Regions from separate parts of the Homo sapiens genome. Here region 1 is linked to region 2. The links are contacts of gene promoters, found by promoter capture Hi-C in human tissues and cell types (Jung and others, 2019). All regions are on one chromosome and are shown on one strand. Each heading gives the region's core, a stretch centred on a gene start or on the middle of the fragment in contact. The rest is flanking DNA. Distances are from core to core; before and after follow the strand shown. Region 1 overlaps ARHGAP31 (Rho GTPase activating protein 31). Region 2 holds the start of B4GALT4 (beta-1,4-galactosyltransferase 4).

Evidence for each region. Contacts are between HindIII fragments. The study calls those that stand out against the background at their distance.
Region 1: a fragment that was not itself captured here is called in contact with the fragment with the promoter of B4GALT4 in region 2 in 1 of the 25 tissues and cell types used here (H1 embryonic stem cells).

What each region holds. Positions count from the first base shown.
Region 1 is chr3:119,384,444-119,390,988 of GRCh38, forward strand. It overlaps ARHGAP31 (Rho GTPase activating protein 31), which reads left to right. Exons shown (of 12, transcript NM_020754.4): 7 at 6,342-6,540. Among named protein-coding and RNA genes, the nearest start is that of ARHGAP31-AS1, 65 kb to the left of the region's middle. The HindIII fragment of the contact is 4,105 bases long and covers 1,524-5,628 here.
Region 2 is chr3:119,239,628-119,246,717 of GRCh38, forward strand. It overlaps B4GALT4 (beta-1,4-galactosyltransferase 4), which reads right to left and starts at 1,251. Exons shown (of 8, transcript NM_003778.4): 1 at 1,223-1,251. All of the region lies in intron 3 of B4GALT4-AS1 (B4GALT4 antisense RNA 1), which reads left to right. RefSeq lists silencers at 938-1,417, 2,068-2,117. The HindIII fragment of the contact is 14,454 bases long and covers 1-3,371 here.

The sequences.
Region 1 (6,545 bases), core at 2,326-4,825, 150 kb after region 2:
TAATTTGCAATGAAAGGGAATTTATTTCTCATGGTTCCAGAGGCTGGGAAGTCCAGAATCAAGGGGCTAGCACCTGGTGAGGGCCTTACCTTCTTTCTGCGTCCTCCTATGGTGAGAGATGGAAAGTCAAGAGAGTGTGAGAATGAGGGCTGAACTTGGTTTTATAACAAACCCACTCCTACAATAATGAACTCACTCCTGCAATAATGACATGAATCCACTTAGAAGGGCAGATCCCTCATGACCTGATCACCTCATAAAGGTCGCACCTCACAACAGTGTTGCATTGGGGATCAAGTTCCCAACACATGAACTTTGGGGGACACATTCAAACCATAACAAACCCCATGCTCATTAAGCAATCACTCCACATTTTCCTCCCCCACAGGCCCTGGCAACCACTAATCTACTTTCTAGTTGTATGGATTTGCCTTTTCTGGACATTTCATATAAATGGAATCATGCCATATATGGTCTTTGGTGACTTTTTTTTTTTTTTTGGATGGAGTCTCACTCTGTTGCCCAGGCTGGAGTGCAGTGGCGTGATCTTGGCTCACTGCAACCTCTGCCTCCCAGATTCAAGCCATTCTCCTGCCTCAACCTCCTGAGTAGCTGGGATTACAGGTGCCCAACACCACACCTGGCTAATTTTTTTTGTATTTGTAGTAGAGAAGGGATTTCACCATGTTGTCCAGGCTGGTCTCAAACTCCTGACCTCAAGTGATCTGCCTGCCTTGGCTTCCCAAAGTGCTAGGATTACAGGTGTGAACCACTGTGCCTAGCTGACTGTTTTTTTTTTCTTAGCATATGTTTTCAAGGTTTACCAATCTTGTTGTATATATCAGTACTTCATTCCTTCTTATGGCTGAATAAGATTCAGTTGTATAGATATACCACATTTTTATCCATTCCTTAGTTTGGGTTGTTTCTGCTTTTTGTGATTATGTATAATGCTGCTGTGAACATTCACATACACGTTTTTGTTTGAATATACGTTTTCAATTCTCTTTATTATATATGTAGGAGTGGCTGGCCTTTCTTTTTTATTTCAACTCTCCAGTTATAGATTTTTTTCTTTTAAACTATATAAAAACCTTTTTGAAAGTAAAAGAGAAGTAATATGCATACATTTATTCATTCACCCTTTTGAGCCCACAAAAAATTTATTGGGGATTTACTCTACAGCAGGAACTGTTGTAGGTATTCCACATGCAGCATTTCATTGATTTATTACAGCAAACATGATAAAGTTGTTATCAACCTTATTTTATACATGAAGAACCAGAGAACCAGAATAGCTTAGTAACTTCCCAAAGCCACCTAGTAAGTAATTCGCTGCGTGTGGACTACTGAACCCAAATCTTTTAGCCCATGCTCTTTCCTTAACTCTATTCTGCCTCTGTGAGGAAAAGAATATGAAAATAGATAACTAAATCATTGTGGAGAACTAGGGTTTTTGGGAAATGTTCTTCTGGACAGCAAATCCCATCCATGACTGTTAATGTTAAGGCTGTTCCTAATTCCAACCTGAAAATGCCTTTTCTCTTTATGGCTATTGCCTTAACCATCTTTTTGTCCTGCATATTAAAATCCAGTTTACTCTTTAGCCTTTAACTCTTCATTGCCTCCAGTGCTTATTATTCACATACATTTCATTTAAAGGTTCTTATTATAAATTCTTACTGACTTCAATAAATTGCCATACTTAATATTTACACAAAATGGAATAAGCCCTATTCTCTGGAATTTTAGATTTGGACAGAGTTCTGCTTCAAACTGAAAAGATTTTAGAAGTTTTCTTAGTCCATTTGGGCTGCTATAAAAAAAATACCATGAACTGGTTAGCTTATAAGCAATAAACCTATTTCTCTCACTTCTGGAGGCTGGGAATTTCAAGATCCAAGGGCCGGTAGATTCAGTGTCTGGTGAGGGCCCATACACCACAGTCAGCACCTTCTCACTGTGTTCTCACATGGGGAAAGGTGAAACAAGCTCCCTTGGGCCTCTTTTATAAGATTACTAATCCCATTCATTAGGGCTCCACCCTCATGACCTAATCACCTCCTAAAGACCTCACCTCTTAATTCTATTGCTTTTGTAGGGACCAGCCCTACAGGGTCAGTGGGTCTCTCCCTGTGTGCGGCGACGAGAGAGTGTAGAAATAAAGACACAAGACAAAGGGATAAGAGAAAAGACAGTTGGGCCCGGGGGACCACTACCACCAATGTGCGGAGACCAGTAGTGGCCCCAAATGTCGGGCTGCGCTGTTATTTATTGGATACAAGGCAGAAGGAGCAGGGTAAAGAATGTGAGTCACCTCCAACGATAGGTAAGGTCACGTGGGTCACGTGTCCACTGGACAGGGGGCCCTTCCCTGCCTGGCAGCTGAGACAGAGAAGGAGAGGAGACAGAGAGACAGCTTATGCCATTATTTCTGCATATCAGGGACTATTAGTATTTTCACTAATTTACTACTGCTATCTAGAAGGCAGAGCCAGGTGTACAGGATGGAACATGAAGGCAGACTAGGAGTGTGACCACTGAAGCACAGCATCACAGGGAGATGGTTAGGCCTCCAGATAACTGCGGGCGAGCCTGACTGATGTCAGGCCCTCCACAGGAGGTGGAGGAGCAGGGTCTTCTCTAAACTCCCCCGGGGAAAGGGAGACCCCCCTTTCCCGGTCTGCTAAGTAGTGGGTGTTGTTCCTTGACACCTTTTGCTACCGCTGGACCACAGTCCGCCTGGTAACGGGCGTCTTCCCAGACGCTGGCTTCACCGCTAGACCAAGGAGCCCTTCTGCTGGCCCTGTCCGGGCATAACAGAAGGCTCGCACTCTTGTCTTCTGGTCACACCTCACTATGTCCCCTCAGCTCCTATCTCTATATGGCCTGGTTTTTCCTAGGCTATGATTATAGAGCGAGGATTATTATAATATTGGAATAAAAAGTAATTGCTACAAACTAATGATTAATGATATTCATATATAATCATATCTAAGATCTATATCTGGTATAACTATTCTTGTTTTATATTTTATTATACTGGAACAGCTCGTGTCCTCTGTCTCTTGCCTCGGTGCCTGGGTGGCTTGCCGCCCACAGCTTTGAGGATTCTATTTTAACATATGAATTTTGAGGGGACAGAAACATTCACAGCATAGCAGAAGGCATTGAATCCAATACTTTTATTTGATAGATGAGAACACTGAGGCCAAAGAGATTGTGATATCTCTAATATTCACTAAAAAATAAATGTGTATTGAATATCTCCTATGAACTAGGTGCTGTTCTAGACACTGGAGACACATCAGTGCCCAAAATGACAGAAACTCCGTGGCATAGAACTATGGTCTGGTTGGGAAGACAAGGATATATAAGTTTACAAATAAATATATTATCACTTCAAAGACAATAAATACCAAGAAGAAAACATAGCAGAGTAAGGCAATAGTCAGTGACTTGGGGGTATAATTTTGGGACAGAGTGGTCAAGGTTTCTAGAGAAGTGATCTTTGAAGTGAGACCTGAATGACATGGGGAACCAGGCATGTGAGGATCTATGAGCAAATGTTCCAAAGACAGAGAACAGAGGTTGTAAAAGCTCTGAGGCAGAAAGCTTGAAGTGTTGCAGAACATTGGCCAATGTGGCTGGAACCAATGTGGCCTTCAAAGTGGGGTGCCCCACTCTGGTGGGTACCAAAGACCAAAGTAATGAGTTATGGGTGTTGGGAGAAACTGTTCAAATTTCTGTTTTCCATTTATTTTTGTCTTATACTGTGTAATTTCTATTTTTTTTATATATTTGCTATTACGCATGACACACAGTGGCATATATGTATACATATAATATGTATATGTATAATTTTTATATATATATATATATGTACACATTTTAAAATGTTTGCTATATTTTTGTAGACTACTGGGCCAGTGGGCAAACAGGAAAGGGGAAGCAGATGAAATATCCTTTTAGGTCATGCGAAGAGACGGGTTTGTTCTCAGTGCCTTGGGAAAGCATTGGAGGGTTTTGAGCAGGCCAGTGCAGGATCTAAGCCTTCCAGCTCCTGTGTGGAGGAGAGGCTGAGAGGCTGGAAGCGGGGAGACCAGTTAAGAAGCTATGGCAAAAGCAGATGGGAAATCATGGCAGCCTCTACCAGCATCTTAGCAGTGGGAAGGAGGAAAGTGGCTGGGTTCCGGATGTATTTTGGAGGTAGAGTTACGAGCCTTGCTTATAGGCTGTCTATGGAAGGAGAGATGCATTAAGGAAAAGAATAAATAAGAAATAACAACCCCAGGCTTTAGCTTGGGCACTGGGTGGTCCGTGGTGCCACCTACTGACACAAAGAAGATGAGAGGAGGTACCACAGTAGAGCAGAGGAGCACAGATCGCAAGCTCTGTTACAAAATGTAAAGTTAGAGATGCCTAAGCAGGGGCCAGGCGCGGTGGCTCACACCTGCAATCCCAGCATTTTGGGAGGCTGAGGCGGGCAAACCACTTGAGGTCAGGAGTTCGAGACCAGTCTGGCCAACATGGAGAAACCCCATTACTATTTTAGAAAATACAAAAAATTAGCTTGGCATGGCGGTGGGTGCCTGTAGTCCCAGCTACTCAGGAGGCTGAGGCAGGAGAATCACTTGAACCCAGGAGTCGGAGGTTGCAGTGAGCCGAGATTGCACCACTGCAGTCCAGCCTGGGCGACAGAGCGAGACTCCGTTTAAAAAAAACAAAAAAACAAAAACTTAACCAACTAACAAACAAACAAAAAAAACCATCTAATCAGAGACACTAAGCGGGCCTTAGTCCTAGGAGCCTGGAGCTGACAGGAGAGGTGGGCACTAAACTTGGTCTTCTGACCCTGCAGTTTATGTTCTTCCCATTGTTGCAGTTGCTCCCAGAGTGAGTTAATGTATGTATTTATTTTTATGTATTTTTAAGCAAATACATAATCACAAATAATCTAGAATATGTGAGAGTCTTTGAACAAATATTCAAAGTAGATTAAATTTAAATATTTTTAACCCTCTTTGGATCGGGTCAAAAGACTGTGTTAAAGTCAGAAAGTTTACTGAAAAGTTTTCAGGATCCCAGGCTATATTTAACAGTAGTCCTACTGAATTAGTGCCATCCATGCTAGTCCTCCCCAGAAACACCCCATTGTCACATAACAGTTGTCTTCATTTTCTGTGAGGCCCTTTTTCAATGGTTTTACTTCTTCCCACCCACAGAGGGTCATGCTCTGCAAAGAGAAATAGTGCCATCAATCTGCTTTCTGAAAATACAGTGAGTCCTCCACCAAAAGTAATTTCAATTGGTCTAAATTATCCTTGAGTCTTTTTACTATTTCAGAAGTCATAGAAAACTGGCAAGGTCACCAAAAACTAAATAGAAGCAAACTTAGACTATTTTTTAACTTAGATCAGCTTCACAACCTCAGCACTATTGATATTGAGTGCTGGATGATTCTTATTGTGAGGCACTGCTCTGTGCATTGCAGGACGCTTAACAGCATCCCTGGCCTTTGCCTACTAGACACCAGTAGCACTGCCACACACATTGATGACCATCAAAAATATCTCCAGACATTGCCAGATGTCCCTGGGTGTGGAGGGGAGTGGTACACAAAATCACCTCAAGGTGAGAACCACTGACTTGGAGAAAAGAGATAATCCTGTGCATCAGCGATTGTCATCATCACTTCCATTCTTTAAAAAAAAAAATGCCATAGAATAGGAAAGGATCAGCTACATACACTAGGAGACAACTGGGTAGTGAGTAAAAAAACCACAGGAAATAGTATAGGCTGTAAAATATCTTCCTGTGGCAGGGATATAAGCCTAGATGATCTGAAAAGTAGAGGTTCTAACTTGAAATGGCCTTGGAGCATGTGCTGTCCAGCTGTGGGGAGGAGAGGCAGCCTCCTGCCCTACTCTGGCAGTTAGGCTATCTCTGTGGCTGGACAGACATATTCCCATCTGGCCGAAGCACTGGGCAGAGTTTTCAGGAGTAAAGACTCATTGTTGTCACTCTGGCTCACAGTGAGTGTTCAATAAATGTTTGTTATAGGAATGAATGAATGGATGAGTGAGTGGTCCCTCTCTGAAAAGTATGGAAGGTGCAGCTACCTCCTGAAGCCCCTGTTTGTCCTCTGGCAGGTCTGGCCAGGACAGTCATCAGTTTCCGGTGTGCAGCCTCAGCCCCAGGCCCCACCATGCCCAAGAGAAGCCAGGGTGGCACTCAGCCCCCATCATAGGATCAAGAATGGAGGGACTGTGGATGGGGAATCTGGATGGATGTGATGGGCAGGCCTCCTCCAACACTGAGCTCTTCCATTGCCTTTACAGAAAACCGGCCCATCATGAAGAGCCTGACCTTGCCAGCCCTCTCCCTGCCCATGAAGCTGGTGAGCCTTGAGGAAGCTCAAGCCCGCAGCCTGGCCACTAACCATCCTGCTCGCAAGGAAAGGAGGGAGAACAGCCTGCCTGAGATTGTCCCTCCCATGGGCACCCTCTTCCACACTGTCCTTGAGTTACCAGACAACAAGTAAG
Region 2 (7,090 bases), core at 1-2,500:
TCTATCCACTTCCCCTTAGATTATGTAGTCAAACAGTTCAATCCAGGTCAGTACTTTTTCACAACGTATGTTTTCAATCTGATCAAAGCTATAGGTAGACGAAAGTTATTGCAATTTCATGGGGTTTACAATTTCCATAAAGAACAAACCTGCTCTAGAAGACAAAATTCCAAAAACTTCTGAACTATATCCAATCAAGCATTATCTCCTCTCCCAAGAGAGACCTTCCAGCACTCCCCGCCTGGGTCTCGGGAATAGCCCTCCCTTCTGAATCCCAGTTTCTCAATCCGGACCCTGAATCCTATTCATCCTGATCTCTCCTTGATTTTCTTGCATCTTAAAGGTGTTATTTTCCTTTCTTTAAAAATTTAAAAAAAAAAAAAAAAGCCACAACTCGCCTCCACGCTCAGATTACCATTTTCTTTTTCCTCCTTTTCATCACCAAACGGCTGAGGAGGTCTACCAGTACCCTCACCACCGCCACGTCCCCATCCCTCACCCACTCTGGAACACTTTGCAACAGTGTGCACACCCACCCACTGTTGATAACTACTCTCCTAAGGCTACCAACCCATAGGCCTCTCCTCGATGCAGAGTCCTTTGGACTTTGTCTGTTTTTTTTCAAACCAAGAATTAACAGCCCTTATCTAATGGAAGACAGAACATCAAGGGATACAGATCAACAAACACTGGATGGCTGTCTCCGAAGTCTTTTATAATCCAGGTGACCAACCCCTTTGGAGAAAGGTCAAAGGTCGCCGGCCCCTCGCAGGACTGGGGCTGGTGTCAGCTGATCAGTTTCCCCGTTGAAACGCTGGAGAAGGAGGGTTTCCAGGAAGAAGGGGCTTTTTCAGGTTGATGCACCCGGCGGAGAAGTGCTGGGGGCGACCCCGGAATCGTGACCTGGGGTATGAATGAGCCCTGGATTTTTTCCTACCCGGCAGCACCTCGTCTGGCTCCCCCGGCCCGCAGCAGAGGCGGCGCCGCGCGGAACGCCAGCACCTGAGCCGGTGCCTCCCGCCAGGCTCGGCCTCCGTAGGCCCCCGGCCCGGCCCACCGCTCCGGCTGAGGCGGGACTGCCCCACGGACGCCGCCACGTCATCCCCACGCCCGCCCCGCTACAGCCCTGGGACTGACCCCGGCCGTCGCCCGGCTACCCTCGCACGGCGCCCGTGTCCAGGGAACTGCATTTCCCGGGCGCCGGCGGAGCCAGCGTACTCACCCCGGAGGCGGCCGCGGCGAGCTAGCACTGCCCGCGGAGAGGGGAGAACGCGGAAAGCAGCTCGGGGACCGCCCCAGCCGCCCGGGAGGCGGCTCTTGAGTACGAGCTCCGCCTCCCGCCTTGGCCGGAGAGGCTGGTCCGCCCGGCTCTGCACGCGCCTGGCGCTCCACCCCCGCCAAATCGACCACACCGGGCGCTGGAAGGAGCACCGGGAGGGAAACGGAGGGTTGACGCCTCGGCCTCTGGGTGGCTTTAAAACCCTGTGCCAATAGTAGACTGGGTGCTGAGCGCTTCCCAAATTCCATCCCCTTAAATACTCACAAAGCAGTAGGAAAGAGATAGGGACCCTTCCATTTTACAGAGTGGGAAACTGAGACTTTAGAGAGGCTAATAAACTTAATCACCCTGCGAGATTTCAGCCCTCTCAACTGCAAAAATGATAATAATAATAATAATATTTTTCCCATGTTGCAGGTCTGAGAATATTAAATGATTTTTTTAAATCCGTATTTCTTCAAAGATATTATTACAGAAAGCAAAGACAATTATATTTACACTAAAGATTTGAGTGAAAAATTATGGTAGGCTCTGTTTAGGCAGTCAGGATAGCTAGATTCTCTAATGCAGTCTCCCACTGCACTCACGGGAAAGTAGTAGATTCTCCAAGAACCACACATCCACTCCACCCAAAAAGGAACAAACCATAGCTAGAGCCAGTGCTGGGCTCATTAAGCTTCATAGCAGGAAATCTGAGGCTATACTGAGGCCGCATAGGCCCAATGTAGGCCCTTGGAAGCTGGAAAAGAGGGCCACCTAGTGGCAGTTGAGGATAGGTCAGTGAAATAGGTCAACACTGCTCCTGAACAAGGTCCAGTGTGAAACTTATTTTTTTGTGTTCCCTTTGTAACATGCTGTAAGGGTGTATAACCACATTTAGTGAAAAAGGACATTACTGGATTTCATCCAGTGGCGTTATACAATCAGTTACTTATACCCACATAGTCCCCAGGTCTTGAGCATATGATGCCTGGAAGCATAATATATACCTTTTGCAAGAATCACTCAGCTTTTCCCCTCCCCCTCCCCCTCTCTGTCTCCCTCCCCATCTCCCTCCCCCCTTTGCACGGTCCTCGTCTCCCCTTTGCATGGTCTCCCTCTGATGCCGAGCCGAGGCTGGACTGTACTGCCGCCATCTCGGCTCACGGCAGCCTCCCTGCCTGATTCCCCTGCCTCAGCCTGCCGAGTGCCTGGGATTGCAGGCGCGCACCGCCACACCTGACTGGTTTTCGTATTTTTTGGTGGAGACGGGGTTTCGCCGAGTTGGCCGGGCTGGTCTCCAGCTCCTGACCGCGAGTGGTCTGCCAGCCTCGGCCTCCCGAGGTGCCGGGATTGCAGACGGAGTCTCGCTCACTCAGTGCTCAATGTTGCCCAGGCTGGAGTGCAGTGGCTTGATCTCGGATCGCTACAACCTCCACCTCCCAGCCGCCTGCCTTGGCCTCCCAAAGTGCCGAGATTGCAGCCTCTGCCCTGCTGCCACGCCGTATAGGAAGTGAGGAGCGTCTCTGCCTGGCCGCCCATCATCTGGGATGTGGGGAGCCCCTCTGCCCAGCCGCCCAGTCTGGAAAGTGAGGAGCGCTTCTTCCCGGCCGCCACCCCGTCTAGGAAGTGAGGAGCGTCTCTGCCTGGCCGCCCATCATCTGGGATGTGGGGAGCGCCTCTGCCCCACCACCCCGTCTGAGAGGTGAAGAATGCCTCTGCCCGGCGGCGACCCGTCTAGGAACTGAGGAGTGTCTCTGCCCCGCCGCCACCCCGTCTGGGAGGTGAGGAGCGTCTCTGACTGGCCGCCCTGTCTGAGAAGTGAGGAGCCCCTCCGCCGGGCAGCTGCCTGGTCCGGGAGGTGGGGGGCAGCCGCCCAGCCAGCCGCCCCGCCCGGGAGGTGGGGGGGCAGCCCCCGCCTGGCCAGCCGCCCCGCCCGGCAAGTGGGGGGCAGCCCCCGCCCGGCCAGCCGCCCCGTCCGGGAGGTGGGGGGCGCCTCTGCCCAGCCGCCGCCCCGTCTGGGAGGTGGGGGCCCCTCTGCCCGGCCGCCGCCCCGTCTGGGAGGTGGGGGGCCCCTCTGCCCGGCAGCCCCGTCTGGGAAGTGAGGAGCCCCTCTGCCCGGCCACCACCCTGTCTGGGAGGTGTACCCAACAGCTCATTGAGAACGGGCCATGATGACGATGGCGGTTTTGTCCAATAGAAAAGGGGGAAATGTGGGGAAAAGAAAGAGAGATCAGATTGTTATTGTGTCTGTGTAGAAAGAAGTTGACATAGGAGACTCCATTTTGTTCTGTACTAGGAAAAATTCTTCTGCCTTGGGATGCTGTTAATCTATAACCTTACCCCCAACCCCCTGCTCTCTGAAACATGTGCTGTGTCCACTAAGGGTTAAATGGATTAAGGGCAGTGCAAGATGTGCTTTGTTAAACAGATGCTTGAAGGCAGCGTGCTCGCTAAGAGTCATCACCACTCCCTAATCTCAACTACCCAGGGACACAAACACTGCGGAAGGCGGCAGGGCCCTCTGCCTAGGAAAACCAGAGACCTTTGTTCACATGTTTATCTGCTGACCTTCCCTCCACTATTGTCCTATGACCCTGCCAAATCCCCCTCTCCGAGAAACACCCAAGAATGATCAATAAATACTAAAAAAAAAATAAATTTAAAAAAAAAAAAGAGAATGTAGGCCAACAATAAGCCACAGGATAACATCTCTGTCTGCCCAAATCACATTATGCTGAGGAAGTTTAATAATAAAGGAGAATAATAAAGGAGCCAAGCAAGTTAATCTAAAAAAAAAAAAAAAAAAGAATCACTCAGCTTTTCTATATTTGGTAGCTGGTAGGTTATTAATTGGAGAAGTTGGGTTATTGCTTTCAGTAAGTGTAGGAAAGCAAGTAGCAGTGATATCTACAAAATTAAAGATAGCTTTCCAATCTGCTTTTGAGGTTTTAGGGTGGCTTTCATTTCACAGAGAGGCATTGGCATTAATAAAATTGTTTCCTAGGGGTTTTTTTTTTGGCATCAGTCCAGAAACCCAACAGTTGCTCTAGTTTTTCTTGTTAGAGCATGAGCCTTAGCTAAAGCCATCTATAAATTATGGTCCCATGGATTTCCCAGCAGGAAATATGGAAAAAATAGAAAAAAAGATAAGATAGTCATGATAGCAGAGAAGTCTTGATCCATGATCTTGAGAAAGCTGTCCATGTCTAGGATGCCATCTGCTTCTGGGGAGAAACTTCCCTACCTTAAGATCTCCAACAGGTGTATAATTCCAAGAGTTTGAAGGGGCTCTTTTGAGTTACAAGGTATGGACCAAAACTCGAGGCCCTGAAGTTTTACTGTGGGTGGTGAGAGAAGTACATGATATAATCTCTTCTAATGGGATACAAGAGCAGTTTTTCTCAGATGGGATGTTATTTCCAGAAGACTCAATCTCTGAGTTCTAGATTGTGAAAGGTTGGTTGTACTCAGTGTATCACAAAAGGCTTTTACCTGGGGAAAACACACTTTCATATAATGGATTAAAGCTTTGCAGTATTTAGTTACAGCAAAGCTTATAAGAGCAGGAGATACATGAGAGTCTATTATTAAGGATATAGGTCTTCCCAGAACTAGTTTTTTGTCTACCCCATGATGAGTAATGGAGTACAGAGTTTTTAATAATGGAAGATTTAAGGACTCAGGAAGAACCAGGTGGCCATATGGGGCCTCCATGAGTCCACACTTAGCAATAAATTTACATCCTTTTAAATATGTTTTGGTTACCTAATGTTAAATAACAAGTTAATGGGTGCAGCACACCAACATGGCACATGTATGCATATGTAACTAACCTGCACGTTGTGCACATGTACCCTAAAACAAAGTATAGTAAAAAATTAAAAATAAAAAAAATATGTTTTGGTTTGTCTATCTGTTCTAAGATGGCAGGTAGTAGGCAGTGCTAGTGTGCCTCTCCCACTTGGAAGGACAGAACAGTGTGTAGCAATTAACACTGTGAACTTTTATTCCAAGAACCACTGCAGGAAGTTACCAGGAAATCAAAAGAATTCGCAGATCCTATGAAAGGAGCACACCACAGCAAAGTCTGTGAGACAGGCAAAAAACTGAATTCTCAGTGTAGGAAAAGGGGAGAGCCTGCCTCTGAACACACATTCCTACTGTGGAATCTGAAAATCCAGATGATGGGAGAAGGCTTTAGCCTTACCTAGAGCTGGAATGGACTTAGGGAGCAGCACAAAATACAAAAGTAGAAGCAGCAGCAAGAAGAGCCTTGGAGGCATTCTCAGTCTCCAGCTTGAGCCCAGGGAAGCCATCCCTGACCATATCTAACAGGGGCCCTCAGGGAAGGCAGCCACCAAACTTAGGAAGGAGTCACAGAGTGAAATAAGCTACCAACTGAGTTTTGTGGTAATTTCAAGTGGGCATGAGCACCCTTGAACAGAATCCAGGGGTGGGCGGACAAATGGAAACTAATGCAGATACAAGGGCAGAAGCTGGGCACCCAGCATTGCAGGCAGATGGGGAGGGGTGTGACCTGAAAGCCATGCTTTCTTCCTCAGCAGGGAAGCTCATGGCCCAGGGCAGGTCTGAGTTCTACACACCAGCTGCCTGGATCTAAACTCAGTGCTGTTAGTGGGGCACCATGGGAGCAAGACTGGCCTCACCAACTCTGTGGGAGCTGGATGAGGACTTTCACTATGAGCTAATCCCCACTCCCCTTGCAAACTCTACTGCACAGCAGAAGCAGCCATACTCTCCTCTAGAACATAACCCCATTGGCCTGAGATCCACCCCTCCTATCCCCCAGCAGGCCATGGCAGGCCTTGCCCAGGGAGAATCTGAACTCAGGCCCGCCCAACCCTGCCCCGACCTGATGGTATTTATCTACCTGCCTTGTAGCTTAACACAAAAGACATAAACTCTTGAGAGCCTTATGGCCCTGCCCATTGCCTGGGAAACCAGAATACTTCCCCTAGACAACTTAGGCCAAGCTCAAATGTCACTGCTACTACCACAGCTGGTGCTCTCTTGCAAGTGTCCCCTCCTGGCTGGAAGCCAGCCAACTCAGGCCATTACAGCAACTCTTGGCAGAATAACGCTTCTTCCAGGAAGGAGAAAACAACAGCTAATACCACTCACTGCAACACCCTGGCTAACTAAAGGTCCTGAGTCTGTCCACATGACAACTTCACCGCTAGCATAACCAGCATTCAAGAAAGCCAGCACACTGAGTCTATCTACAACCAAGAAATCTCACAGACTACATCACTCCCCTGCCACCTCCATCAGAACAAGTGTTGGTATCCATGCTGGGAAACCTGAAGACAGATCACATCACAGGACTCTTTGCAGACATTCCCCAGCACCAGCTCAGAGCCTAGCTGGGTGGCTAGACCCAGAAGAGGAATAACAATCACTTCAGTCTGGCTCTCAGGAAGCCCCATTCCTAGGGGAAGAGGGAGAGCACCACATCAAGGGGTCACCCCATGGGACAAAAGAATCCAAACACCAGGCCGTGAGTTCCAGATCTTTCTACTGGTGGGAAGTTTCTCACAGCAGAGACACAATTGCAGTGCTGGGTACAGTAGAGAAAGTCTGCACCTCTACCCCAACAGGCAGGTGGCCTGTGTGATTATGAAGGGCACTAGAGAAGGCATCCTTGTTCCCCCTGGCACTACACTGCAGACACAGCTGAAGCTTCTTCCACAGGAATGCAGCATAGAGGCAGCTATAGACAGCCTTGCTGGAACAATCCAGGGTAAGCACAAGCCCCACAGGAGAAGCACCCCCCCAGATTCAAGCCTGCACAAGAGGCAAGAAACATCA